Regions from separate parts of the Homo sapiens genome. Here region 1 is linked to region 2. The links are contacts of gene promoters, found by promoter capture Hi-C in blood cells and fetal thymus (Javierre and others, 2016). All regions are on one chromosome and are shown on one strand. Each heading gives the region's core, a stretch centred on a gene start or on the middle of the fragment in contact. The rest is flanking DNA. Distances are from core to core; before and after follow the strand shown.

Region 1 (3,251 bases), core at 684-3,183, 190 kb after region 2:
TGTGTATCCCGGTGTAGTTATCAGTGGCACCTCCACTTACTTTCAGAGTGTCCTGATTTGAACAATATATTGCTTGATGACCTTAATGCTTGATGGCATCATCACTGTGCTGCTTTTTTTCTTTTGTTTTGTTTTGGTTTTTTTTGAGATGGAGTCTTGCTCTGTCACCCAGGCTGGAGTGCAGTGGCGAGATCTCAGCTCACTGCAGCCTCCGCCTCCCAGGTTCAAGCGATTCTCCTGCCTCAGCCTCCCGAGCAGCTGGGATTACAGGCACCCAACACCACACTCGGCTAATTTTTTTTTTTTTTTTGTATTTTTAGCAGAGATGGCATTTCACCATATTGGCCAGGCTGGTTTCGAACTCCTAACCTCAGGTGATCCACCCGCCTCAGCCTCCCAAAGTGCTGAGATTACAGGTGTGAACCACTGCTCCCAGTGCTGTGCTGTTTATAGGAGGAGAGCTTGGGAAGCAAGTCAGTTGCCAGGTGCTAAGGGAGCAGATAGAGTAAAATCGTACATTTAATATATGAAACACTATTTAGCAGTGAGAAGCAATGGACTGGGTATACAGAGAATGGAGGAAAACATAGATTGCCAAACAGAAGACATCTGCAGGTTAAACTACTATATAAATGTTCACCTTGGATTTTTTTTTTTTTTTTAACAGCAGCTAATGGGCCATTGCTGGGAGGCATTATAACTTCCATTTCCACTCAGACCTGAAAAACCAATCTATTTCCCTTCCTGCGTGGGGTTTCTGCAGATATCAAGAGATCTGGTCTTCTAACCCTAGCTCTTGACCACCTTAGACCCAATTTGCCAGAGAGAAATGGTCCCTGGTGTCCTACAGTTTCATGACACGGAGAAGAGCCTCATGCATGACAAGAAAAGGGATGCTCAATCACTTAAACTACCTGGAAGCAGCATTAACACAAAGTCAGACTTCCTTTGAACTCTTGGAACTACTTCAAGGCTCCTCTGCCTTGTCTTACCCATCCCAAGGAACCCTCAAAACATCACTAAGCTGCATGTGTTTGCTGGCCAAGGGCTGTAATGGAAAAAGGCCTGTTTGAGAGTCTTTCTGGCCCCTAGATCAGTTGTGAGTTTATCTTCTGTTGCTTAAATACAGAAGAGGCAAATGGCTTTTCTAAATCAAAGTTCTCCGGAGGGAAACAGACACGGGTGCTTTGACGGCTGCAGCTGAGCTCATTGTGGCACAGCCTCTCTCTCCCTGCACGTGTGTTGCTGCCTAGAGAGGTGATTGCCAGTACCAATGTCTCAGCGGAATCCTCAAAGTACCCTAAATGCTGGCCCGAGATGATGCAGCCTCTCTGGAGTTAGCATCTTCATGATTAGCAGGTGGAATAGCAAAATAAACCCAGCACTGGCAGAAATAGCTGTTGGAATCATGCAAAAAGTACCCCTCTCCTCCTTTTCCAGAGAAGCGGCCCCTTTTGGTTTGGAGCAGGGGACAGATCCTTCATACACAGTAGGGTTGGGTCGGCTAAGATGAAGTACTCAGATCTCTGTATCACCGGAGCGCCCTAGGGGATGTGTGGCATTTTCTCCTTTTCTCTTCTTGGTCTCTGGATTTTATCGCAGGCAGTCGGGTCTCCCGTGCCTGGCACTTCCTTGGCTGTGGGCAGGAAGAGGTTACAGCAGCCCTGGAGCCTGCTGGGCTGAGTTAGCACTTCCCTCCGCATCCAGAATATCTCCCAGGAACTGCCCCCTTTGCATCGCCGCACCGGGGTGGCGGCGCGGGCTGGGGGCCGCTGCAGCAGGTCTCAGTCCCTCCCTGCTGCCACGCGAGGAGTGGGGAGCGGCAGGGCCTAGGCGTCCCGAGTGGAGGATGAGCCGGAGACGCCTGCGGGTCCGGAGCTGCACCGCGCCCGTGCGGCCCGCGCCGCCCGCCTCCCGCGCTCTCCCTTTGGCAGCAGCCGGACGCCTGGCGCGTGCAGGACCTGGGGCCGCGGCGCTCGCGCGGGGACGCGGGAGCCCAGGGTCGGCGCTGCAGGCAGCGGGGCGGCGCCAGCAAGGCCAGCTCCCCGGGGACCCTGGGGCAGCCTCGCGCCCTGCCTGCCTCCCTGGACTGAGACGCCGCGGGGCCTGGGCAGCGCTCTGCCGGCAGCTGGTGCTGGAACACAGCCGGGGCTGAGCTGCTCCCGGGGACCCTGCCCCTTCCAGGTGACCCCAGGAGAAGCAGCCCCGGGCCGGGGGGCAAGTTCCAGCCACCCTTCCGGGTCAAGAAGCCACGACTCCTGGTTAGGGGGAAACTTAGATTTTTCTTTTGCATGGAACTGCTGCTGTGCAAGATTTGCCAAGGCTTATAGGGTTTCATTTTTTACTTGACTGGTGTTTGAGAAAAACTGCAAGGAAAGGGTGGCGAAAGGAAGAAACACTATAAACTTTGGGGGCGGGGACATTTTCTTGGAAGTGACAAGTAGCCTCAGATCTGCAGTTCCTGGGCCAGCGACGGCATCCTTTGCTCTGACACTCCAAGGGTCTGGACGCTGCCACATGACCAACACCAAAGACCCCAAAAGAGCCATGGAATCCACGCTGGCGACATCCAATTCTGCCACAGGCCCCGTCACCTTCTCCCACGTCTTTGGTCAGCAGTGCCAACTTATGCAAGCAGGTAGGAATTGCGTCGTGTGTCATGTGCCCAGAGAATGGGAAGTGGAGCGTTATCCCGGGTCCCCAAAAACAGCGGTCTGTGTGTGTCTGTGTGTCTGTCAGTCTACCTCATCTCTTTCTTGATATAATGTGGGATGTAAGACTTAACTAGCTAGTGAAATGTTTGCCTGGCATTTATCACTGTAAAAGATAAAGTTTTTAGGACTTGCCATGAGACAACGCGCTGCTTTTGCAATGAGTGAGGGGCCTTGTTTGTCCTTCGTCATCGATTTTCTCTGTGGCTAGCTGGGGGGTGAAGGAGGGTGCGTCAGGATGGATCTGATGATGCCATGCTGTGGCCATCTTTTGAGGCCAGGTGCCAGTCGTAGCCTGGTTGCCTTTGTCAGCTTGCCTCTCTCTGCTCCTAAGAGTTATGTTTAATCTATGCCCCCCCAGCCCCTGCTGGAGTAACTTCCATGCTTATAAGTGTCTGCTCTGAGCAGCCTCTCCCAGGCTTTGACTTGGTTGTGGGGATTCCTCATTAGTCTGTGCTCATGAATTTGTCTTCCAAATGGCTCACGTTTTATACAGAAGGGAAAGATTGGCATGGGCTGCGGGCCTTATAACCCATGCTA
Region 2 (3,340 bases), core at 294-2,793:
TTTTTTTTTTTTTTTTTTGATACTGAGTCTCGCTCTGTCACCCAGGCTGGAGAGCAGTGGGGCATCTTGGCTCACTGCCAGCTCCGCCTCCCGGGTTCACGCCATTCTCCTGCCTCAGCCTCCGGAGTAGCTGGGACTACAGGCGCCCGCCACCACGCCTGGCTAATTTTTTGTATTTTTAGTAGAGACGGGGTTTCACTGTGTTAGCCAGGATGGTCTCGATCTCCTGACCTCGTGATCCACCCGCCTCGGCCTCCCAATGTGCTGGGATTACAGGCTGAGCCACCGCGCCCGGCCTAGCCTCATTCTTTTACAATAAGATAACATGATATATGTTGATACAACACGTTTTCTTTCTTTTTTGAGATGGAGTCTGTCTCTGTCGCCCAGGCTGGCGAGCAGTGGGGCGATCTTGGCTCACTGCAAGCTCCGTCTCCTGGGTTCACGCCATTCTCCTGCCTCAGCCTCCGGAGTAGCTGGGACTACAGGCACCCGCCACGTCGGCCGGCTAAATTTTTGTAGTTTTAGTAGAGACGGGGTTTCACCGTGTTAGCCAGGATGGTCTCGATCTCCTGACCTCGTGATCCACCTGCCTTGGCCTCCCAAAGTGCTGGGATTACAGGCGTGAGCCACTGCGCCCGGCCAACACGTTTTCTTAAGATTAAACCTGTTACATAAATGATCGTTCATAATTTTTGGAAGCACACCTGCCCTTAGTATCCTGTTTTTCCACTGGGTGCTTTCTGCAGATGGCCAACGTAGCCATCACATTCGGATTCTTCCTGACTTCATTCTCAGAGGATTACTTTATCTTGAAGTGCTGAAGGCTCCAGGCACCATCTATAACGACAACTCCCAACTTTCCAGCTCATCTCCAGCCTGTGCTTCTCCCCGACTCAACTCATTTTCAACCACGTGCTAGGCCTCCACCCTTGGATGTCGAAGAGCCATCTCCAGTTCCACCCAGTTCATCTTCATCAGAACATCTATGAGTCGTCGTCTCTGCAGTCCATTTGTTTGCCCGCTTGGGAACAGCAAGCTCCTTAAGGGCAGGACTACTACCGCGCTCTCAGAGGCGCTGCACTGGAACATCGCGGGCACAGGGCAGCGTTGGTCACTGCTCCTGGGTACTAGGGCAGCAAATAAACCCAGCAGCTGCGTCTGTCTGCCTGGAGTTGGATCTTTTTGGTATAGATCCAAACGTAGAAGTATAAGGTCTACGTTTATGTACTTGTCAGATATTTAATGACCTCCAACGATAGACATGCCCCCCCAACACCTCCTTCAGTCTTTTTGATTCTTTGAGAATCTTTGAACCACGCAGGATCCTAGCCCTAGGGTGCGGTCGGACTTGCCGCGACGCCAGCCGCCGGGGTTCCTTCCCGAGGCGCCGCCATGGGATCCGCGGTGACCTACGAGGGGCGGCTGGGTGGTGGCCATTGGGCGACGGCGCAGGGTCAAGGGCCGGGCTCTGGGATCGTGGGGAGACCGGGGGTCCCGGAGCCCCCCAGCCCCGCAGGCCACTGCCTCGCCGCCCGACGTCACTTCCGACTGGAGTCAAGATGGCGGCGGCGCGGCCGCGGGCGCCGGGGCCGGCGAAACAGCGGCGGCGGCGGCGGCCCTCGGTGCTCTGAGGCGCTGGCGCGGCGGGCGCGGGTAAGGAGTGGCGCGGGTGGGCGGCCTCTGGGCTCGCGCCGGGACGCTGGTCCCTCCCCCCGAGGAGCGCGGCGGCGACGGCGGCGGCGACACGCTGGGGACCCGGCGCCGCAGGGATGGCCGGGTCGGCGGACGCGCCCCCTCAGAGGTCCCGGGCGTGCCGGGGGCCCCGGGACGAGGCGCGGGCCTCCGGGTCGGTGGCCCCGCGGGTGGGTGGCGGCGCCGGGCTCCTCCTTGTCGGCCGTGGGGTCCCTGCGGCGAAGTTCGGGATTCGGTTTGTCGCCGTGAAGAGCCGCGCGCCCCGCGGGGGACGCGTGCGGGCTGCAGAGACTGGCCGGGTGCGGGCGGCGGTGGGGCCACCTGGGGCCCCACGTGGGGCCGGGCGCCGTCCCAATTGTCAAGCCGCTGTGCTTTTCTCTTTTGTGTTCCCACTGAGTGTGTCTTGCACATTTGCACTCCAAATTTGTTTTGTGTCTTGCGTCTTTGTGTTTCCCAAATAGTTTTTGTGTGGTTTTAACCTGGAGATTGTCTCCCTCAATGTTCCCATAGACCCACGGGTGTATGTGTGTGTGTGCGCACGCGCGCGTGTGTGTGTGTTACAGACGTGCAACTCTGTTACTAATTTTGCTAATAAAGCTATCAATGAACCTCTTTTGATGGTGGTAAGTGAGACATGAAGTAAACCTAACAGGTCAGTGTCATTCCCCAAACCTTCGTGGTTCTTTCGATCCACGCGTGAGCCACCGACCCTCCGGGCTTGTAGCTTTGTGTCGGGCTGTGAGCTGCGGCAAAGACCCCATAGTTAACCGGGAAGTCCTGATTTCCTTAACTACGCAGCTGAAATTTCCCCTAACAGAAATTTCGTGCTGGCCCCTCACTTTTCTTTTAGTGTTGTATTGAGATTTTGGGTGTATTTGAGACGTGGAACGTCTTTTGCTGAATCCCAGTAGGTCCTTAGATCCCTTTAACCAGACACTAGAAGAATCATTTTTACCCCAGAACTCGACTAAAATGTTTAAGTTTTTGTTTACTCCAGGTTTATTAAAAGTGACCGAAACTTTTAACAACAAATGGAACTCTTCAATGATTTCTTTTACAATGGTACACACTTCGCCTCGGTTTGATCAGTTGTGTCCAAGTATTAGAAAAATGTAGGCCTTTTAAAAAAAAACATGATAGGAAATTTACATATATTAAGGAGGAGGAACTGAGACACACTGTCATACGTTCTTTTTTAGTAGGGTTCTGTGTTTTTGAGATGGTCCAAACTGCCCCATCACTCTTGAGGCTTCCGGACTAACACTTATTGGCCAAATTTTTACATGTAGAATCTTAGTTTAGCCTTGAGATGACCTTTAAAGATCATTTTTATTAAACCCCCTCATTTCGAGCTATGGAAACAAATCAAAATTCACAGTGGAACTAAAACTCATTTACATTTTCTGTGATTCCAGGGCTCTTTTTACTCAACACATCTGTTTTGGTTTGATTGAAATAAGTTAATACATTTTAAGTGCTTAGAAAAGTGCCAGAACATGATAATACTGCTCAGTAAATGTTTGCTTTTGTTGATTCTGAAGGTGGTTTCTTTAATTGAAAGGTTGGTATGTTCAGGTTTGTTTTTTCCTTATTTTGTGGACAGGGCCTGAAACAGTACAGTTTAAATCTGTAAGAATGTATTAAT

What was found. The method cuts DNA at HindIII sites, captures the fragments that hold promoters and counts their contacts. A CHiCAGO score of 5 or more calls a contact.
Region 1: a fragment that was not itself captured here is called in contact with the fragment with the promoter of PRDM2 in region 2 in 2 of 17 cell types (non-activated CD4 T cells and naive B cells); the score reaches 6.6 in non-activated CD4 T cells.

Annotation. Positions count from the first base shown.
Region 1 is chr1:13,891,119-13,894,369 of GRCh38, forward strand. It overlaps a transcript of KAZN not described here. Among named protein-coding and RNA genes, the nearest start is that of PRDM2, 190 kb to the left of the region's middle. The HindIII fragment of the contact is 4,492 bases long and covers 1-3,251 here.
Region 2 is chr1:13,698,645-13,701,984 of GRCh38, forward strand. It overlaps PRDM2 (PR/SET domain 2), which reads left to right and starts at 1,544. Exons shown (of 10, transcript NM_001393986.1): 1 at 1,544-1,656. RefSeq lists a silencer at 1,297-2,066. The HindIII fragment of the contact is 13,472 bases long and covers 1-3,340 here.